Regions from separate parts of the Homo sapiens genome. Here regions 2 and 3 are each linked to region 1. The links are contacts of gene promoters, found by promoter capture Hi-C in human tissues and cell types (Jung and others, 2019). All regions are on one chromosome and are shown on one strand. Each heading gives the region's core, a stretch centred on a gene start or on the middle of the fragment in contact. The rest is flanking DNA. Distances are from core to core; before and after follow the strand shown.

Evidence for each region. The method cuts DNA at HindIII sites, captures the fragments that hold promoters and counts their contacts. A contact is called where the count stands out against the background at its distance.
Region 2: a fragment that was not itself captured here is called in contact with the fragment with the promoter of MARK3 in region 1 in 1 of the 25 tissues and cell types used here (dorsolateral prefrontal cortex).
Region 3: the fragment with the promoter of CDCA4 here is called in contact with the fragment with the promoter of MARK3 in region 1 in 1 of the 25 tissues and cell types used here (small bowel).

Annotation. Positions count from the first base shown.
Region 1 is chr14:103,383,962-103,386,710 of GRCh38, forward strand. MARK3 (microtubule affinity regulating kinase 3) reads left to right here and starts at 1,454. Exons shown (of 18, transcript NM_001128918.3): 1 at 1,454-2,119. The coding sequence starts at 2,069. RefSeq lists enhancers at 279-1,270, 1,271-2,260, 2,201-2,390 and a silencer at 1,731-1,920. The HindIII fragment of the contact is 8,681 bases long and covers 1-2,749 here.
Region 2 is chr14:102,351,580-102,354,313 of GRCh38, forward strand. All of the region lies in intron 3 of CINP (cyclin dependent kinase 2 interacting protein), which reads right to left. Among named protein-coding and RNA genes, the nearest start is that of CINP, 9.9 kb to the right of the region's middle. The HindIII fragment of the contact is 9,147 bases long and covers 1-2,734 here.
Region 3 is chr14:105,019,765-105,022,464 of GRCh38, forward strand. CDCA4 (cell division cycle associated 4) reads right to left here and starts at 1,319. Exons shown (of 2, transcript NM_017955.4): 1 at 1,235-1,319. RefSeq lists enhancers at 1-44, 496-1,011, 1,526-2,039, 2,055-2,114 and silencers at 665-754, 765-1,654, 1,685-1,754. The HindIII fragment of the contact is 13,458 bases long and covers 1-2,700 here.

The DNA of each region.
Region 1 (2,749 bases), core at 204-2,703:
GTGGTGGGCACCTGCAGTCCCAGCTACTCGGGAGGCTGAGGCAGGAGAATGGCGTGAACCCGGGAGGTGGAGCTTGCAGTGAGTGGAGATCGCGCCACTGCACTCCAGCCTGGGCGACAGAGCGAAACTCCGTCCCAAAACAACAACAACAACAACAACAACAACAAACATATATTTCGTGGAGCAAGAAATGTCTCAAACATAGCAAGAGAGTTGGGATGCCAACGGACCAAAGGGAAAGCAAGCATGACATAGCCCCCCACTACAAGGGCTTACCTATTATCCAAGCTTTGGGAGCTAGGTTAGAATCCCAGCTCTGTCGCTAACCAACCTGTGTACTTTAGCCAAGTCACTGTACCTGTCTAGACTTCGGATCGCATGTGTGTCTGCCCATCTCATAGGGTTACCCTGAGGCTAAATGAGGTAACAAATGTCATGAACCCACAAGGTAGACTCGACTCTCGGTAACAGTTCGTGTCACCCCCATCTCACACTACTCTCCCTCTTCGGACCCTGCACCCATGGATTCCATCCACCGCTGGCCAGGAGCTGAGTAGAGGCACCGAGCACGTGAAGAGGTGAATGGGCAAGGAAGGCTTCCAGGTCAGGTAGCATTTCCAGTGTTCCAGCCTGCAGGCATCTACCGAGCCTGGCCCGAGGCTGGCACCCAGAGATGCTTCCAGTCTTCCAGCAGCAACGCACTGACTGTAAGAAAAGCCTGCTTATAAACCCCCTACAGGCATTTGGAAGCTGGTCCCTGGGGTCCTCTACAGATTCATTTCGCCCCCAAACCCATCCCCTTTGTGCCACCCTCGTTATTGCACTCTTCCATCCGGATGGCATTTAGCTGGGTCCGGGTCTGTCACCCGTCTGACCACCAGCTCCTTGAGGGCAAGAGGCGCCTGCTGCCCTCAGGGTCCGCGCCCAGCCCGCAGCTGCTCAGATCCGGAGACGGGAAGGTTTGTTGGCGAGAACCTGACTCCCGGGTCACAGTTAAGGATGCAAGAGCCCGGCGCCTTCCCGTAGCCCCGGCCCTGTCATTAATTAATGCTGGGGCTCCATTCGGTGCAGCGCAGTCCCAGGGATGCAACCGCAACTTTTGCGCACAATAGGCTCTCGATCTGTAATCCAGCCAACCCAGGCCTGTAGTGTGTAAATGCCAACTCAGCGGGAGGGCTCTGGCTGTCGCCCAGAGCCGTTTCTCGGCTCTTTCGCGGTTGCCGGCGCGCTCGGGACAGGAGGAACCCGCAGCCCGCGGGAGTCAGCGGAGACCCGACCAGCACTATCCAGCCCTCTGCACCGCCCCCGCGGCGAGGTCTGGACCAAGTCGCCCCTAGCAACAACAGCCGGGCCGGCTTTCTCAGGCCATGCTGATTGGCGGGACTCCGGGTGGCGGCCTGTCGTCACTTCCGGCAGCCGGAGGCAGCAGAGGAAGCCGAGGGGCGGCCATCTTGGCTCCGTGAGGCTCTGAGGTGCCGGGGTGCGGCGGCGGCAGCGGCGGCCAGCAGGGCGGAGGCTGAGGCAGCAAGCTCGCTAGAGAGGGAGAAGCAGTCGGGCGCAGGCGCCTCCTCCGCAGCCCGCTCCATGGTCGGCGCCCACAGCCCGCGGCGGCCTGTCTTGCGCTCCACTTCCTTCACATCCTCCTCCGCCTCCTCGTTTTCAGGCGCCGCCGGCGGCGCTGTGTGGAGGCCCGCGAGCTGAAATTCGCGGTGCGACGGGAGGGAGTGGAGAAGGAGGTGAGGGGGCCCAGGATCGCGGGGCGCCCTGAGGCAAGGGGACGCCGGCGGGCCGAAGCGCAGCCCGCCGCCCGCAGGCTCGGCTCCGCCACTGCCGCCCTCCCGGTCTCCTCGCCTCGGCCGCCGAGGCAGGGAGAGAATGAGCCCCGGGACCCGCCGGGGGACGGCCCGGGCCAGGCCCGGGATCTAGACGGCCGTAGGGGGAAGGGAGCCGCCCTCCCCACGGCGCCTTTTCGGAACTGCCGTGGACTCGAGGACGCTGGTCGCCGGCCTCCTAGGGCTGTGCTGTTTTGTTTTGACCCTCGCATTGTGCAGAATTAAAGTGCAGTAAAATGTCCACTAGGACCCCATTGCCAACGGTGAATGAACGAGACACTGAAAACGTAAGTAACCTGGGCGTTGTAGTTGGCGGACCTTCGGGGTGGCATTCGTGCTCCTCGGGCAGTGCCTTGCAGTCGGGTGTTCCCCCCAGCCGAACGCTCTGGAAATAGAGGGCAGGCCGTAGTCACCCAGGAGGCAGCCAGGTCGGACCGTTTCCTCCAGAAGTCTGCCGTGTCCCGCTGTTCGCGGGCGGGTCTGCGAAGTACATCGATTATGCCGGCAGTCTAGTCGGTTAATAAAGCCCAGGAGTTGCAGCGTTACGGATCGGTGCTTTGAGAGGCCAGGTTGCCGCGCAATGGATTGTGCAAACGTGTGTGTCAGATCACTGCAGTGGTCAGTGCTTATTTTAGCCGAACTCTGCTTTTAACTTGGTCAGGCAGTTCTTGAGAGACTGTCACATTAATAACATATGTTACCGGTGCTGATTAAGAGTAATCGATTGGGTCAAGTGGGCGGTCTCGTTCTTTAAGATGGTCTGGAACTAAATTTAATCACAGTCACTAAGTGTCCACTGAGGGATCTTTGCGGTCCCCTTAGGAATTCCAAAACACTAGCGCGCAGCCTTTATTAAGGCAGTTTCCTTTCCATACAAATCTTTTTTGAAGGAGTTGGTTAAACATTTTGAAAAGCAG
Region 2 (2,734 bases), core at 96-2,595, 1.0 Mb before region 1:
GGGGAAATAAGAAAAGATATATAAATTGTCAAATATCTTAATTCCTTTACTTGGTCCTTCCAACCACCCTCCAATTACATTGGAAGTGGCAAGCACTAAATTCAGCTAACGTTAATTTTTAAAGGACTTTACTTAAGTAGTTTCCCAAATCTTTTAAGGTTTGATATTTTATTTGGCCCAACCCCAAGAGGCAGGACTTGTCATTTCCGTTTCACAGCTGGGAAATTGCTTAAGGTTGAGCTGAGGAAGGATGAGGCCAGAACTCGATACCATGCCTTCTGACACCAAGTTTTTTTGTTTTTGTTTTTGTTTTTGTTTTTTTTGAGACAGAGTCTCGCTTTGTCACCCAGGCTGGAGTGCAGTGGCGCGATCTCCGCTCACTGCAACCTCCGCCTCCCGGGTTCATGCCATTCTCCTGCCTCAGCCTCCCAAGTAGCTGGGACTACAGGCGCCCGCCACTGTGCCTGGCTAATTTTTTTGGTACTTTTAGCAGAGCTGGGGTTTCACTGTGTTAGCCAGGATGGTCTCGATCTCCTGACCTTGTGATCCGCCCACCTCAGCCTCCCAAAGTGTTGGGATTCCAGGCGTGAGCCACCGCGCCCAGCCGACACCAAGTTTTAACACCCAATCCTCTGCTCTTTCCTGTGAGTCCTGCAGCAGCTCCCTGGTGCCACCTGATTCTAAGAAAAGCTGATAACAGGAGACTAAGGAAAATTCTGGAGCCTTGACCCCAGGCAAGAAGTCATGCTCAATCCTGCAGCTCAGCCATCAATAAAGAATTCAAGTCACATAGGCACGTGCAGCCCTGAATGAACAGTGCATAAACAGCAGGCCCTTACATTTCAACATCGGTGGCTTCTTCCCACAGCAAACACAGACCACAGTGAAATGTTAGCCCAGCTTAGGAAGAACGGTGCATGAAACCCCCAGAAGGTCAAAGTTATGAAAGACACAGACCAGGTCTGGAAACCATTCTCTATAACGGATAGAGGAAAATAGGAAAAATAATAATACCCTATAAAATCAACTTTTGGTTTTGAACATAGAATGAGAACTTATTCCCAAACCACTTTTCTTTTTCTTTTTTTCTTTTTTTTGACACGGAGTCTCACTCTGTGGCCCAGACTGGAGTGCAGTGGCTTGATCTCGGCTAACTGCAACCTCCGAAAGTGATTCTCCCGCCTCAGCCTCCCAAGTAGCTGGGATTGCAGGCACCTGCCACCACCCCCAGCTAATTTTTTGTATTTTTAGTAGAGATGGGGTTTCACTATGTTGGCCATGCTGGTCTCAAACTCTTGACCTCAGGTGATCCACCTGCCTCGGCCTCCTAGAGTGCTGGGATTACAGGCATGAGCCACTGCGCCTGGCCAAAACAAAAATTAAAAAAAAACAAATAAAAATACAACAATTAGCTGGGTGTGGTGGCAGGCACCTGTAATCCCAGCTACTTGGGAAGCTGAGACAGGAGAATCACTTGAACCCAGGAGGCAGAGGTTGCAGTGGGCAGAGATCACCCCACTGCACTCCAGCCTGGGCAACAAGAGTGAAACTCCATCTCAAAAAAAAAAAAAATTAACAAATGGGAGGGAGGGAACAAATCTCCCACGCAGAATAATTCCAAATAATTTATGTAGATACTGCACCCTCAAGCAGGTGGTGAATACGTCCCTACCCCCAGGTGTGGGCTATGCATAGTGACTTCCTGCCAAAGAGCACAGCGTGGGAGGAGGAGAAAGAGCAACGTCACAGCAGAGGAACCTGGAAACACTGCCCAGCCAGGTGATCAAGGTCAACTTCAGCAGTGGAAAGTCCTGGCTGTGCACAGTGGCTCACGCCTGGAATCCCAGCACTTTGGGAGGCTGAGGTGGGAGCACTGCTTGAGCCCAGGAGTTTGAGACCAGCCCGGGCAATAGGTGGGACCCAAAGAAAAGTCCTGATGACAGTATATCCAGTACGTGCCCTTGATATGACATGATAGAAATGGCACTTTACTTCTGTGGTCCTCCTCTGAACAAAACCCGTAACCTCAGTCTAATTAGGAGAAAAACATCAGATAAATCTCATGATGTTCTACAAAATACCTGACCAGTATCCCTCAACATTGTCAAAGTCATCAAAAACAGGGAAGTCTGAGAAACTGTCACGGCCAAAAGGAGCCTGAGGAAACAAGGGGACTCGATGTCATACAGGATCCTGAAGCCAAAACAAGACATGACGGAAAAGCTAAGGCAGGGCGCCAGGGCTCACACCTGTGATCCCAGCACTTTGGGAGGCCAAGGTGGGAAGATCACTTCATGTCAGGAGTTCGAGACCAGCCTGGCCAACATGAGAACCCCGTCTGTACAAACGAATTTTAAAAATTAGCCGGGCATGATGGTTCATGCTTGTAGTCCCAGCTACTCGGGAGGCTGAGGCAAGAAGATCACTTAAGCCCAGGAAGTAAAGGCTGCAGTGAGCTGTGATCATACTACTGCATTCCACAGCGAGACCTTGTCTCCAAACAAACAAAAAGGTGAAAATATAAAGATCTTAAATGTTTATGGGTAAGCTTCAGTTATCCAAGTTCAAATATGTGTAAAACCTGATTTCCTGTGCCTAGCAAAGAAATAAGGTGGTGTTATCTTCACATCTGGTGGCCAGTATGGTAGGTATTGAAATTTAGTTATTAGTTCATTAAACAAACACTTTAGTCTCTTACGTGCTGTATCAGGGATGGGCAAACTATCCCTGGAAC
Region 3 (2,700 bases), core at 69-2,568, 1.6 Mb after region 1:
GCAATGGCACGATCTCGGCTGAGACCTCTGCCTTTCTGGTTCAAGCGATTCTCCTGCCTCAGCCTCCCACATAGCTAGGATTATGATTACAGGCATGCGCCATCACGCCCAGCTAATTTTTGTATTTTTAGTACAGACGGGGTTTCACCACGTTGGCCAGCTAGTCTCGAACTCGGGACCTCAGGAGATCCACCCGCCTAGGCCTCCTCTCAAAGTGCTGGGAGGTGTGAGCTACCGCGCCCAGCCAATTGCAGGTACTTTTGTTACTTGGAACGAAACACACTCCTTCTTTTCCCTGAAAACATGTTCCAGTGGCAAGTTGAGGGAAACTTCCTAGCCCCTTTTCCAAGATACAGCCTACTACTCTTCCTAGAAAAGGGGTGTAACTCACTTTGTATTCTGGATTTCCACCCTAATTATAAAACACGGTGACACTTGAAAATAGAGTGGTTGTACGTAGAAAGTTGATAAAACGTAAGTTTTGTGAACAGGCAATGTTTTTCTGTGGCTCGCTTTGAGAGAACGGTTATCTGGGTCCCGCCGTCCCGTGCGTCCCACACGAAGGCCACAGGAGAAGCGAGGCAGCGGAGACCCTCTATTCCAGCAAGCTGTCGGAGCCTTTGCCACGACGATCCTGTTTGCGGGGCGAGAAGCGTCTGAAGACGCGGAGGGAGGCTTGCGTCTGACTTCTGCAAGTGTCTCGGGGACTTTCCCTAGTCCCACCTCGCACCGCCGGAGGAGCCCAGGGAAGACGGCGCTGGCCGACCCGCCCGGGGTCTGGGCCTCCTCCCACATCCGCGGCCCTCTCCGCGGCCGGGCTCCGACAGAGGGGGCTGCGGCGCGCCTGGCGTTCCCTCCGCTGCAACTAGAGCCGAGGTACGGGAAACGCCGCTGCGTACCCCAGCCGGGCCCTCGTGAAGCGGCTCCCGCGTGGGGCCGCCCGCAGGCCTCGGCAAAGCCCCAGCTCCGCGCTCCGCAAGGAACGCAGACGGCGGCCCGGGCCCCTCTGTTCCCCGGGCCCCCTCAGCAGCGGCCACCCCGCGGGGGAACCAGCGCCCAGGAGGGCGGCGAGGGCGCCGCGGCAGCCCCAGCGGTGGTCCCGGGCGCCGCCTCCGCCCCGGACCCAGCGCCAGGAGCCACAGACTCCGCGCACCGCCCCCAGGCTCCTCCGCGCCCTGCAGCACAAAAGTGCACGCCGCCGTAGACGCCCTAGCGGTCCGCCGGGCCCGCTCACCTGACCCGCGAGGCCGCCCGCCGGGTCCTCTGCTCAGCCACCGCCACCGCCGCTGCCGCCAGCTTCCCGCCGCTGAGGAAGGAGCGCCCGACGGCGCGGGGCGGGGCGAGCGACCGCCACTCGGCGTCCACAAAGGGTCGACGCTGCGCTCTCCGCGCGCTACGCCCGCTGATTGGCCACTCGCGGGCCGGGGGCGGGGCCTCTTGTTCAAACCCACGCGGGCGGGGCATCTGTGGCGCGTCTTCCCGCGCTGCGGCGACGGCCGTTGGGGCTCGCGCGCGCCCTCGGTTGCCCCGCCCCCGCCCCTGCGCCCGGCCCCGCCACGCCCACGCCCCGCCGGCTCCCAGGTCTCCCCGCGCCCAGTCCGGCCCCGCCCCGCCAGCTCCCAGGTCTCCGCGCGTCTGGCCCTGAACTGAACGCGCCTGCGCCTGGGGCCCACGTGGGGCCCTCGGGCGGGCGTGGCGGGGCAAACAGAGGTTTGGACTCTCTCGCTTCTGCCTGGCTCAACTTCTCCGCCGAGGCATCCGTGCCGGGGTCGGGAGGAGCCGGGCACGGCAATTCCCGGGCGGTCTGGGCTCCGAGGTCTATCCAAGCCTCTCCAGAGACCGGGGTTATCTCCAAAGGCTTCCTAGGTTTACACGTAAGAAATGTAACGTGAAAGTTCAAAGCAGGGGACACGTGTTTTAAATCTCTTAGTGGAAAAGGTTTTAAATAGGATGCGAGAACCTGCAATCATTGACTTAAGTAATACCCTGAGCGCCTGCAGCAGGCCCGGCAGGCGTGGCTGCAGCTGAGAGCCAAGTGCTGGAAGTTGGGGGGGAATCCTCAGATCAATCCGCAGGTGCGGATGCGCCAAGGTCGGTGGTAAATGCTGAAATGCTGTCGGGAAACCTGGGAGTGACGTGGGGGCGCTGCTCACATAGGTCTCTAGGATAAGGAGCGTCTTAAAGCACCAAAAGGAAGAGTGGACGAGAATTCAGGAGAGGAATGGCTGGGGCAAAGCCCGAGGCAGGGGCAGGAGGCAGGAGCACGTCTCAGTGCAGTGAGAAAGAACCCTGTGATCTCGTGGGAAAGTTTTAAGTGTGAGGGGTGGAGGGACTTTTGGGCTATTCTGGGAGTGGGATGGAGACTACTGGCATGGTCAGCAGAGAAGGAACTGGAATCTGAATTGTGCTTGAAAAGAATCACTGTTCTTATTTAAAAAAAAAAAAAAGGGGGTCTCTTTCGCCCAGGCTGGACAACAGTGGCGTGATTATGGCTCACTGTATCCTCGAACTCTTGTGCTCGAGTGATTCTCACGCCTCAGCCTCCCAAGTAGCTGGGACTACAGAAGTGTGCCACTACACCAAGCTAACTTTTTTTTTTTTTTTGGTAATTTTGTAGAGACAGGGTATTGTCTTGTTACACAGGCTGGTCTCCAACTCCTGGCCTTAAGTGATCCTCCTACCTTGGCCTCCCAAAGTTCT